Regions from separate parts of the Homo sapiens genome. Here regions 2 and 3 are each linked to region 1. Evidence: promoter capture Hi-C in 16 types of primary human blood cells and fetal thymus (Javierre and others, 2016). All regions are on one chromosome and are shown on one strand. The core of a region is centred on a gene start or on the middle of the fragment in contact, and the rest is flanking DNA. Distances in the headings are between cores, read along the strand shown.

Region 1 (4,394 bases), core at 1,327-3,826:
GTTTGTCAAAGATCATATAGTTCTAGATATGCTTCCAAAGCTCTCTTAACCTTGTTATTTTGGGTTCTTATGAAGGCTTCATTATGTAGACATCATGAGCCATTGGTGATCGATTCAACCTTTAACTCCTCTCTGCTCCAATCTTCTAATCATGCCCTGGTCTTTGCCGTGAACAGCCCACATCCTGAAGCTATCTAGGGGCTGCCAATCATCAGTCATCTTATTAGCATACAAAAGACACTCTTATCTCTCAGGATACTTCAAGGGTTTTAGGGGCTGTATGCCAGAAAAGGAGATCAAAGAGCAAATATATATTTCACAATATCACAGTAAACAATTCCATTTACCATAGCGTCAAAAATAATAAAATAACTTAGAAATAAATCTAACCAAAACTATAAAACATTGCTGAAATAATTTAAAGAAGATCTAAATAAATTGCAAGATACCCAGTGTTCATAGGAAACTCTGTTTGTGGGAAATTATGCCCTCTGGAAACTCTGTGTTCATGGATTGTAAGACAATATTGTTGAGATAACAATACTTCCCAAGTTTATCTGCAGAGTCAGTGCAACCCTTATCAAAATCCCAACAGTCCTTTTGTTCAGAAAAGGAAAAGACAATCCTAAAATTCATATGAAATTGAAAGGAACTATGAAATTAGCTGAGCATGGTGGTACATGCCTGTAACCCCAGATACTCAGGATGGTGAGACAGGAGAATCGCTTGAACCCGGGAGGTGGAGGTTGCAGTGAGCCGAGATTGTGCCACTGCACTCTAGCCTGGGCGACAGAGCAAGACTCTGTCTCAAAAAAAAAAAAAAAAAAAAAAAAAAAAAAGGAGCATGAGTAGCCAATACAATCTTAATAATATTTTCAGAGAAATCACACTTACTGATTTCAAACATACTGCACAGTTACAGTAATCAAAAAATAAATGTGGTTCTTGCATAAAGATAAATTAAAAACGTGGTTTTTGCATAAAATTCTATGAAATAGAATTAAGAGTCCAGATATAAGCCTATACATCTGTACTAAATTGATTTTCAACAAGTATGCCAAGACAATTAAAAAGGCTAAGAATTGTCTCTTCAACAGAAGGTGCTGAGACAACTGGATATCCATGTGCAAAACAATGAATTTGGTCCCCTTCATCACACCATACATAATAATTAACTCAAAATGGGTCAAAGACATAAATATAAGAGCTAAAAACAAACAAAATTTTACAAGAAAATATAGGGGTACATTTTCATGAACTTGGATTTGGCAGTGTTTATTTAGGTGTGACTCCAAACGCACAACCAAGTTTTAAGCTTTTGTGCATCAAAAATACTATCAAGAAAGTGAAGACACCCCACAAAACGGGATAAAATATTTTCATATCATATATCTGATAAGGTTCTCTCATCCAGAATTTAAAAAGAACAATTAACAGCCCTGCTACAAACAATTCATTTAAAAAATGAACAAAGCACTTGAAATAGACATTTCTCCAAAGATACACAAATGTCCAACAAGCACACAAAAAGATGCTCATCCTCATTAGTCATTAGAGAAATGCAAATTAAAACCACAATTAGGTACCACTTCATACCCACTAGGATGGCTGTAACGATAAAACTGATTGAATCACTTCTAAAATGTCTTTCTCCACAGATTTATGATCTCACAAATTCCTGTTTTAATTATAGCAATTGTTCTAAGTTTAGTGTCTAGGTTATTCTGTTCAAGTGAACAGAATAATTCATGCGCAAGCACAATTTATAGGTATTTAACAATTAAACGTCTGAAGATAGGAGGCAACGGCAAAATTATGAAAAATCCTAATGCTTAATTTTATGAAGCTACTACAAAACATGTTCTCAGAAAATATCTAAAAAATTGAGCAAATGTTTATTCTACATGGAAATGAGCAGGACATGAAAGTGCATATTCAAAATTATCCAAGCTTTGTAAGAGCTTAGAAAAAAGGAAAAGGAAATAGTGTTAATATTTCACTGTGAGCCCTGGAAAATGGGAGGCCGGCTTAGTTAATTATTTTCTCTTCATGTCAATTTTCTGAATTTTACAGTGTCAATATTGTGCATGCAATTCTTTTGCAATCAGGGGAAAAGAAAAGAAATCCTCAAGAAGTTAAGTCTGGGAATGACAAGTCAGTAAAAATTACGTAGATTGGGTCAAGATGGCAGCCTGAACACTGAGCAGTAGCGCATTTCTCTTGTCCTACCACAAATCCCCTTCAATGGAGGGTGGGGGGACGCGGGGAGGGAGGGGAAAGGAAAGGGCTAATTCCTGAAAGGTGGAAAGCAGAAGGGGCAGGGGCGCAGAGGGTTGAGGTTAGGTGAGGGGAGGGGCGCGTGCTAAACCAGAAGAGGTAAACCAATGCAGTGAGAGAGAGGTGGTTGTGGGCTCCACAGCTTCTGATTTGGAGGAAGCTGCGAGACCGAGAGCCTAGGAGCACCTTCCACGCCCAGGGCTGTGGTACAGGTTGGTGGGGGAGGGGCGCCACGCGGTGTTTGGCAGGAAGGGGAGGCCTCTCTACTGACCGGAAGCTGCGCTAGAAAAAGAAGGAGGAGACTGCGGCGCAGCAGCGACTAGTGGGAGTCCGATGTGGGAGAGGGGCTGCGGCCACCGCCACCGCCGCCGCCACCAGGAAGGCGGAGGACGCAGGAGCCAAGAGCAAGGGACGCCGCCACGGTCATCTTCGCCTGCCCCGCCGCCCTCTTAGAGACACTCATTGCCTATGGATCATCCTCTCCCAGCTTTTGCAAGCACCGGGCTGCTCGCCCGCTGATTTTCCTCCTCCATAGGCTCACTGCGGAGGCAACGGCGAGGTGTCCGATTTGTGCACTTGAGGCCCGCAATCCGGGACGGTGGGGAATCTGCGCCTCCTGGCCGGGTAGTGTTGGAAGCAGGGCGAGGGGAATGGGGAAACGCTTCGTATTTCACCGAACCGCAGATCTTAGCCAGACTGAGCTGGGGAGGAAGGTTACTGCAGGCACTCAGCCAGGGTGCCTTGATTTCCAGCTTTGCTATCTAGCTTTCGGGAAAAACAGGTGTGGGTTTACTGGGTGCGCTGATTAGGAGAAAAAGCTCTCCGTGTTATGCATTGATTTTGTTAATTTCCTTTCTCGGTCCACCTGGCAACTGTGCTCCTCTTCGCAGGCATGAAGACCCCGTTTGGAAAGGCAGCTGCAGGGCAGCGGTCCAGGACGGGCGCTGGCCACGGCAGTGTGTCTGTTACCATGATAAAGAGGAAGGCTGCACACAAGAAGCATAGGAGCCGACCCACCTCCCAGCCTCGGGGGAACATCGTGGGCTGCAGAATTCAGCACGGATGGAAAGATGGAGATGAACCTCTAACACAGTGGAAAGGAACCGTTCTGGATCAGGTACCTGTAAATCCCTCTCTGTATCTTATCAAATATGATGGATTTGACTGTGTTTATGGATTGGAACTTCACAGAGATGAAAGAGTGTCATCACTTGAAGTCCTTCCTAATAGAGTTGCATCATCTAGAATCAGTGATACACACTTGGCAGAAATAATGGTTGGCAAAGCAGTGGAACATATTTTTGAGACAGAGGAAGGTTCCAAAAATGAATGGAGGGGGATGGTCTTAGCTCAGGCACCTGTCATGAACACATGGTTTTACATTACCTATGAGAAAGATCCTGTATTATATATGTACCAGCTCTTAGATGATTATAAAGATGGTGACCTCCGCATCCTTCAAGATTCCAATGATTCTCCTCTGGCAGAGAGGGAGCCAGGAGAAGTCATAGACAGCCTGGTAGGCAAACAGGTGGAATACGCCAAAGACGATGGCTCCAAGAGAACTGGCATGGTCATTCATCAGGTAGAAGCAAAACCCTCTGTGTACTTCATCAAATTTGATGATGATTTCCATATCTATGTCTACGATTTGGTAAAAACATCTTAGAGGTCATCTTGAAATTTGCCAAATATATGAGACTCTAAATCTGTAGACACAGAAAGTCTTGATTGCTTTCCAGTTTGTAAGAACCATCTTCTCCCTTTTTGCACGTTTTGCTTGGCAAAAAAATTGGAACTTCTGCCCTCTCATACGTTTTTGGAAGAAACCTTTTGCCCATCTGTCCAACCTTTTCACTGGTTCCTCTCCGCAATTTAACTGATTAGTGAGAAGGGTAAAGTCTGACATCCATTGGCTCATACTTTTTTTTATCTTGGGTGGTGTTAATAGATTAAAGGTAGCTGAACACCTCTCACCTCACTCTTTTTGGCACTTGGACTCTACACTCATTGAGGTGTGAAGCTTGCTGAGATATCCCATGTGACTGGCTGGGTAAGTGTCTTTGCAATCTCAAATCTCCCCCAAGTGGCTTCAAAAATCTAACTTGGGAAAGAGT
Region 2 (4,394 bases), core at 1,193-3,692, 900 kb before region 1:
TCCAATTTTAGAATGTGCTGCTAGGCAGAGTGAGAACTATTTTTCCTCCCGATTTGTGTTGGCATTAGTTCGTTAATGCTAAACTTGACCCTTGATATTTCCAAAGAGATGCAACAGCTTTCCCTTTAAAGTCATTTTATGTTCTTGTGCTTTCTGGAACTTGTTTTATTTTAAATTATTAATAATAATAGGAATTGCATCAAATGTTATGACATGCTAGTAGAAGAGGGAATAAGCCAATATTATTTTTGCCTCACTTTCTAAAATAGCGTTGATTAAGTAAAACTTGCTTTTCTATTTTTTATGTGAGAGCTCATTTTGCCATTTGGGTATGTCACTTTCATTTATGTACTTAGGAAGCATTAGGATTTAAGAACATTGTTAAAATAAGTCTTTATAACTTTAGAAATGTGGTTACTTTGAAAATGGAAAAACCTAGACTAGCCTTACTACTTTTTTTAGATAACAGGGAAGACTTATGGAAATGAATGAAAGGCAAATTCAATTGGAAAAAAGAGATTAATTTCTTATTAAATCAAATTCTCTGTATTTATAAATTTTGCTGATAAATCCACTCTTGTATATTATTCAGCATATTTCTATTCAGTTCATTTTTAGAATAGTTTATCTACAGCAGTAAGTCTATGTGAAATCTAAAAATTTGACTAACTTTTATTATATTTCATTTTTACAGTAGGCAGTGGATAGTCATTTTCACTGCTAAATCTATGTACCAAATCTACTGAGTATTGCAAAAACACACTGGATAGAATATTATTTGCAAAGTGATTCTTGTTGTCATTCACCATAGATTCTTTTGGGACAAAAAAATTCTTAAAGATAAAATGTTGCCTGTATTTATAAAAATCATTGAGGATTCTTCCCAAAAATAGAAATGAGAAAATAGAATTTAAACAATCAAATGATTAAGTTTGCTCTATAGCCAAGTGTTTTGGTCTAAGTGTCTTTGGTTGAAAGCATCTGGATAAAAGCATAGTGACAATTTTGAAGCATGTCCAGAATTTTCCAGTTACAGTTAGACATAAAAAAAATCAAAGAGCCATTATTGCAACATTGGTAATCTGTCTGTCTAATACAATCTATCTTTTGAAAGTTTCTTGAAGACAGTAATAAGTAAAGAGAAAAGTTACAGATTTGGGCCCTGACTATGAAATGCCAAAATGTTATGAAATTGGAGGCTATTGATTATTTTACATGATAATTTTAGTAGTTGGTGTTTTTAAGTATTTCCACTCCAAGTATTTTTAAGAGTATTTTTAAACTAAATGTGAATCTTTGATTCATGCCTTTAAAATTGCTAATTGATTTTTATTTTATTTTTATTTTCAAGATTGTTGGATTATTCAATTCAATAAGCTTCCAGATACCAACCTATAGATTGTTAGTTGTGAGGCTATATTGTGTATTTTAATTATTTCTTGATATAATTTTAAGTTACCATGTATTGAATTATAACTGGCCCTAAAACATTTTTTAATTTGTAAATTTTATTTTTATAACTTTTATTGAAATATACTTTAAAAATATAACATACATTACAAAATTGCTTTATTAATTTTCAAAAAATGAATACACCTATAAAACCACTACTCAGATGAAAGGATTACCAGAACCTCAAAGCTCCCTCATATTCTCTGCTAGTCACTACCATCCTGTACCAAAATAAATAACTTGATTTTCAAAACCAAAAGTTAGATGTTTTTTATTTGCTTGTTTCTCTTCGTTTATTATTATTATTGAGATAAAATTCACATAATGTAAAATTCACCATTTTAAAATATACAATTCAGTCATTTTTAAAACATTCATAATGTTGCTGAGTCATCACAACTGGGTAATTCCAGAACACCTCTGCCACTCTGAAAAGAAATCCCATAATCATTCTCCATTCCCTCATCTCCAGGAAACCACTAATTTACTTTCTGTCTCTATGGATTTGTCTATTATGCATATTTCATATGAATGGAATTGTACAATATATGCTTTTGTGTCTGGCTTTTCTTAGTATGATGTTATTAAAGTTCATCCATGTTTTAGCACATATCAGTACTTCACTCTTTTCATGGCTGAAATGTATCACATTGTATAGCTATATTGCATTTTATTTGTTAATTAATTAATGGACATTTGAGTTGTTTCCACCTTTAGGTATTATTAGTTTTTGCTATCAATATTTGTGTACAAGTTTTTTTGTGAATATATTAAAACTACAGATTAGTTTTATTTTTAAACTTTATGGAAAGTTTATATTCTTTTTGACTTCTTTTACTCAACATTTTGTTTGTGAAATTCAGCCATGGTTTAGCATGTATAAACAATTCATTTATTCATTTTTATTTTAAGAGAGAAGGTCTCTCTTTGTCATCCAGGCTGGAGTGCAATGGCACTATCATAGCTCATTGCAGCCTTGATCTTCTGGGCTCAAGGTATCCTCTCACCTCAGCCTCCCTAGTATCTGGGACTACAGGCATAGGACACCACACGTGGCTTGTTCATTTATTTTTGTTGTAGAATTATAGTGTATCCCTCACCCATAATTTTTTTAGTTTCTGCTTATAGGCATTTATATTGTTTCCAGTTATTGGCAAGTGCTAATTATGCTGCTATGAACAATCAAATAAATAAATGGGAGTGTAGCTAGGTATGTTAAATTTTAGTAAGCACTGCCAGTTTTCCAAGGTGTTTGTACTAATTTACACATTCACCATCAGATATGGGAGTTCTTATGAGTGAGAATGTGAAATATTTGTCTTTCTGTGTCTGACTTGTTTCACTTAAGATAATGACATCCAGTTCCATCCATGTTGCTACAAAAAATGTGATTTCATTCTTTTTATGGCTGAATAGTATTTCATTGTGTATACATACCACATTTTCTTTATCCAATCATCTATTGATGAACACTTAGGTTTATTCCATATTTTTGCTATTGTGACTAGAGCTGAAATAAACATACAAGTGCAGCTATCTTTTTAATATAATGATTTTTTTTCCTTTGGGTAGACATCCAGCAGTGGGATTGCTGGATCAAGTGGTAGTTCTATTTTTAGTTCTTCGGGAAATCTCCATACTTAGTTTTTCATAAAGGTTGTACTAATTTAAATTCTCACCAACAATGTATAAAAGTTCCCTTTTCTCCACATCCTTGTCAATATGTGTTATTCTTTGACTTTTTAATTATACCATTCTGACTGGGGTAAGATAATATCTCATCATGGTTTTAATTTGCATTTTTTTCTGATGACTAGTGATGTTGAATACTTTTTTCACGTATCTGTGGGGCATTTGTAGGTCTTTTGAAAAATCTCCATACATGTCATTTTTCCATTTTTTAATGGGATTTTCTTTCTTTGTTGAGTTGGCTGAGTTCCTTGTATACTCTGAATACTAGTGCCCTGTTGGATGTATACTTTACACATATTTTCTCCCATTCTACAGGTTGTCTGTTCACTTTGTTTATTATTTCCTGTGCTGTGCAGAAGCTTTTTAGTTGAAGTCTCATTTGTCTATGTCAGTTTTTGTCGCCTGTTCCTTTGAGATCTTAGTCATAAATTATTGGCCTAAACCGAGGCCCAAAAGAGTTTTCCCTAGGTTTTGTTCTAGAATATTTGTTTCAGCCTTACATTTAAATCTTTAATCCATCTTGAGTTGATTTTTGTGTATGGTAAGACATAGCAGTTACATTCCCGTGCTTATGAAAATCAAATTTTCCCAGCACCATTTGCTGAAAGTGTTCTTTCTCCAATGTATGTTCTTTTTGACATTTTCAAAGATACATTGGCTGTAACTGTATGGCTTTTTGTTTTGGGTTCTCTATCCTGTCCCATTGATCCATGTTACTATTTTAATAAGAGTACCATGCTGTTTAGGTTACTATAGCCTTCTAGTATAATTTTAAGTAAGGTAAAGTGATGTCTCCAGCTTCGTTCTTTTTGCTAGAACTGCTTTTGCTATTCAGATTTTTTGGGGGGTTTCATATGAAATTTGGGATTCTTTTTGCTAATTCTGTTAAAAATGGTGTCATTTTGATAGGGATTGCATTGAATCTGCAGACTGTTTTAGGCAGTATGGTAATTTTAATGCTATTAGTTCTTCAGATCTGTGAGCATGGAGTGTTTTTCTATTTGTGTCATTTTCAATTTCTTTCATCAGTGTTTTGTAGGGTTTTTTTCTTTTTGTAGAGATCATTTGCCTCTTTTTAAAATGTATTCCTAGGTACTTTTTTTGTAGCTATTGGAAATGGGATTGCCTTATTGTTTTTTTTCTCAGCTAGATCATTATTGATGTATAGAAAAGTCACTGATTTTTGTATGTTGATTTTGCATCCTGCAATTCTACTAAATTCATTTATAAAATGTAAGAGTTTTTGGGGT
Region 3 (4,394 bases), core at 723-3,222, 730 kb after region 1:
AATGCTATGTAAGTAGTTGTTATACTGTATTTTAAAATTTGTATTTTTTTATTGTTGTATTGTTATTTTTGTTGTTTAAAAAATATTTTTGATTTGTGGTTGGTTGAATCCACGGATGTGGAACCTAAGAATATTGATGGCTGACTACATGGATTTGAGTGGCAGCTCTCCTTCTTCAGATCAGGTATGTGCTGTTCGGTTTGACAGGATCACTACCAGGTCTGCTTTATTTATTTATGTGCACCTTTTTTTTTTAATGTGAACAAAGACACGTTAATGGTTAGTGGATTACAACCTGCTTTAATTTCACATAGTTTAAATTGTTCTTGTGCTTTTCCATGCTTAGTAAAACTTGTGAGACCCTGGTAGTAAGGAAGGGAGTAATGCCTTAATCTTTGCTTAAGTGTTGACTCCGCAATTAGAAAGACCCACAGGGCTCACTGGGAATGATGACTATTAAGACACCAGATTTAGTTTAGTGTTTTCCTAGGCCAGTTTTATAAAATCTGCCTTAGAGTAGGGACAAGAAATAGGGATAAAAACCATGAATGGAGCCTGTGCCCATGAGTATAAATGCATCAGTCTTTGTTTCAGGACTTCATTCTCTGTCTCTCAGAAATTTTCTCTCTCTCTCTCTGCCCCTCTCTCTCTCTCTCTCTGCCCCTCTCTCTCTCTCTCTCTCGTGTGTGTGTGTGTGTGTGTGTGTGTGTGTGTGTTGGGGGTGAGATGGGAGTGGGCAGACCTGTATGGATTCTGCGGTGAGCTTTCAGGTGAGAGCTTTTGGTGTACACTTTGCTGCATCCTGCAAAGTCACATTGGTGAATCCGTCTTCTCTTCAAGTCAAGCGACTCTTCTCCCTGCATTTGGGCCATTGCTGCTGGTCTGATCAAAGAAATAGAGATAAAGCCAAACAGTGACTTTAAAGTGAAGGCTAAAAAAATGAATTTACATTCATTGGTGCCACATCATATCGGCTTTTAATTTACGTGAATTTAATGCTAGGTCCCCCCAAAAAGAAATAATTGGAATAGTAAAAACAATTCTGTCAACTAGGCCATTCTGCTCAGTAGGTACAGGTCCCTCAGTAGGTGCTCAGAGAAAGCATGGGAGGTGGTAGTGTTTCCTTCAGTGGTTGTGTTCCCAAACAGTGTGAGCATTTCACTTCAATAAGTTTCATTTTCCTGCTTAAAGAAATTTGTTTTTCATACAACAGTTGTTGCTAAACACAAGCCAACTACTTCCAATTAGTTTCAATATTGAAAGACAAAGCTGTTTTAAACTTACAGAGAGAAACAGTACATAACTACACTTTATGGGAAATTTGAAGATTTTTCAAAAGAAAAATTGATGATCTACAGTTAGAACATAGCTCTACTATAGCATGCATGTACATGCACATGTGTGCACACAAACTCATATACTTTCACTGGAAAGGCAGTCTCCCTATATTTCTTGTCCTCAAATTCTTACTCTTGTGTCTGATCATTAGTTCCACCTATACATATGTGCAAATGTACACACACACACACACACACACATACACAAAGACAGACTTGAAGACAAAAAGTACTCACTCTTGCTGTAGTCCCTGCAGACTCTGCAAGGCTGAGGATCCACTCTCAATTGTACTCTCCTCACTGTCACTTGGAATTTCCAGTGGAGACATGGAGGTGGGGTCAACTTTCACTAAAAGCAAAGAAAGGGAGCAGTGTGAGCTGAAGATGTATGTGCCTCTTTAATCATTTTCAGGATTCCCAGTTTGTCCCACCTTAAGAAGTGGCAGCAAGACAGAAAAATAAAGAAATAAAAAACAAGATGAAAGAAGTGTATTTGCATGGAAGGAAGAGAATAACATTTTATTTTTTTTTTTTGCATAGCAGGGAACAGAAATGCCTTTAAAGTAAGAGTAGTATGAAGAGTTCTGATACCACTATGAGTGGTATCAAATGAGAGTGTCTCTAGGATGTGGTCTGGGTATGATTCATCTTTCTATCTCCAGCTACCAGGACAGGGTCAGCTGAAAAGTTAGTTTCAACGTGTGTGTGTGTGTGTGTGTGTTGAATTGAACTCACTGAATAGCTCCTGGCTGTCCTAAAATCAAATTCTAGGATTAGTCCAGATGTGAGAACATCCACCTTGGCCTTTGTGCTCCTAAACAGAAATAAGTCAATGAGATGAAACGTATACCTACCACCTAGTAGGTGCTTGATACAACCTTCCTTTCCACCTATGTTGGGAGAAGCTGTCAAATATTCCTTATTATCAACCCCTGATGTTTCTAATTCCTAAAAACTCAATCAGGTGGTCAACAGTCTCCTAGATCCAGTGAAACCTTCAAAATTTCTATAGAGAAGAAACTTGGGGGTGGTGATAAGGTGGGGAACAAGTATTTGGTTAAAAGAGTTGTCTCTATACTTTGCATATCATTCACTAAAAAGTTTTAAGCATGTATCTTGAGGTGTGCATGTTTGTGCATGTATGTGATATACATGTATCGGTATCCTACAATTTTGTATACATTATAAGAAAACAAACAAAAAGTAGTATGTCATCTCACTTAAGTTAGAGTGACTATTATCGAAAAGACAAAAGACAGTAAGTGCTGGTGAGTATGTGGAGAAAAGGGAACACTTACACACTGTTGATGGGAATGTAAACTAGTTATAGCCTTTATGGAAAATAGTATGGAGGTTCCTCAAAAACTTAAAATTAGAACTACCGTATGATCTGGCAATCTCCCTTCTGGGTATATATCCAAAGGAAATAAAATCACATGCCCAAAAGATAACTGCATCCCTGTTTAGTGCAGCATTATTCACAACAGCCAAGATGTGGAACCAACCTAAAATATCTATCAACAAATGAATGAATAAATGAAATGTGACATATATATATATACAATATAATATTATTCAGTTATAACAAAGAATAAAATCCTGCCATTTGTGAGAGCATAGATGAACCTGGAGGACATTATGTTAAGTGAAATATGCCAGGCACAGAAGGACAAATAGTGCATGATCTCACTCATATGTGGAATCTAAAAAAGTTAATCTCATGCAAGTAGAGTAGAATGGTAGTTACCAGAGGCTGGGGTGGCTAGTGGGGAGGGGGATGGGGAGATATTGGTCAAAGGATACGTAATTATAGCTAGATAGGAGGAATACATTTCAAGAGATCTATTGTATAGCAAGGCAAGTATAGTTAATGATGATACATTTTATTTATTAAAATTGTAAAGAGAATGGACATTAAGTGCTCTCACCACAAAAATGATAATGAGGTAATGCATTTATTATTTAGCTAGATTTAACCATTCCACAATGCATATGTACTTCAAAACATCATGCTATAGATGATTAAAACATACAATATTACCTGTCAATTTTTAAGGGTAAGAAAATACAAATTTTGATACTTTCTTCTTGCACTCCAATTGTTTTATATGTGCCCCCTAAGGTTTAGTAAGCCCCCCATTTTGGATACTGATGTGGTTTGGCTGTGCCCCCACCCAAATCTCAACTTGAATTGTATCTCTCAGAATTTCCACATGTTGTGGGAGGGACCCAGGAGGAGTTAATTGAATCATGGTGGCCAGTTTTCCCCTGCTATTCTCATGATAGTGAATAAGTCTCATGAGATCTGATGGGTTTATCAGGGCTTTCCGCTATTCTTTCTTCCTTTTCTCTTGCTGCCACCATGTAAGAAGTGCCTTTTGCCTCCCACCATGATTCTGAGGCCTCCCCAGCTATGTGGAACTGTAAGTCCAATTAAACCTCTTTTTCTTCCCAGTCTCGAGTATGTCTTTATCAGCAGCATGAAAACGAACTAATACAGACACCATTGGGCCAATGCCCTTAGCTTGGAACCACATTGAGCACATTTAAAATTTATCCTGTTTATTTAGAGTGGCTCTGATGGACTGATGATATTATGGGGACTATTCAAAGCTCCTTCAAACCATCCTTTGATGTTACCACTGCCTTTATCTCAGCATAAACTGTCACACGAGGAATTTTATTTCCTTTTTTGTTTGTTTCCTTTTTTTGGTTTGTTTGTTTGGCTCTCCCTTCATATATGGAATGGATATCACATCTCAAAATAAGATTATGAACACTTATCATTACCACAATTAACCACTAGTCAATAATAATATTTGTATTCAGAAGACCAGTGCAGAGTCTCAGCAACTTGATGCTTAGTAGTATGTTGTTTTTCAGCCTCCTACATTTAGTACAGGGCATCAAATTTCAAGGGTAGATACTCTTTTACAGTAAGCTGAAATCTGCTTCCTAGTCATTTCCACCCCTTGGCCTTTCCGATTTATGCAAAACATTATCAGCCTGCTTTAGAGGCCACATAATTTTCCTTGATCATTCCTGATTACAAACTAA

Evidence for each region. The method cuts DNA at HindIII sites, captures the fragments that hold promoters and counts their contacts. A CHiCAGO score of 5 or more calls a contact.
Region 2: a fragment that was not itself captured here is called in contact with the fragment with the promoter of SPIN3 in region 1 in 1 of 17 cell types (monocytes); the score reaches 5.5 in monocytes.
Region 3: a contact is called between a fragment that was not itself captured here and the fragment with the promoter of SPIN3 in region 1, in 2 of 17 cell types (non-activated CD4 T cells and total CD4 T cells). The highest score is 5.3, in non-activated CD4 T cells.

What each region holds. Positions count from the first base shown.
Region 1 is chrX:56,993,723-56,998,116 of GRCh38, reverse strand. SPIN3 (spindlin family member 3) reads left to right here and starts at 2,576. Exons shown (of 2, transcript NM_001010862.3): 1 at 2,576-2,901; 2 at 3,168-4,394. The coding sequence starts at 3,170. The coding sequence ends at 3,946. RefSeq lists an enhancer at 2,545-2,644. The HindIII fragment of the contact is 2,350 bases long and covers 1,953-4,302 here.
Region 2 is chrX:57,896,713-57,901,106 of GRCh38, reverse strand. No RefSeq gene overlaps it. Among named protein-coding and RNA genes, the nearest start is that of ZXDA, 12 kb to the left of the region's middle. The HindIII fragment of the contact is 2,126 bases long and covers 1,380-3,505 here.
Region 3 is chrX:56,266,670-56,271,063 of GRCh38, reverse strand. KLF8 (KLF transcription factor 8) reads right to left here. Exons shown (of 6, transcript NM_007250.5): 4 at 1,575-1,686; 5 at 743-882. Among named protein-coding and RNA genes, the nearest start is that of KLF8, 37 kb to the right of the region's middle. The HindIII fragment of the contact is 5,951 bases long and covers 1-4,394 here.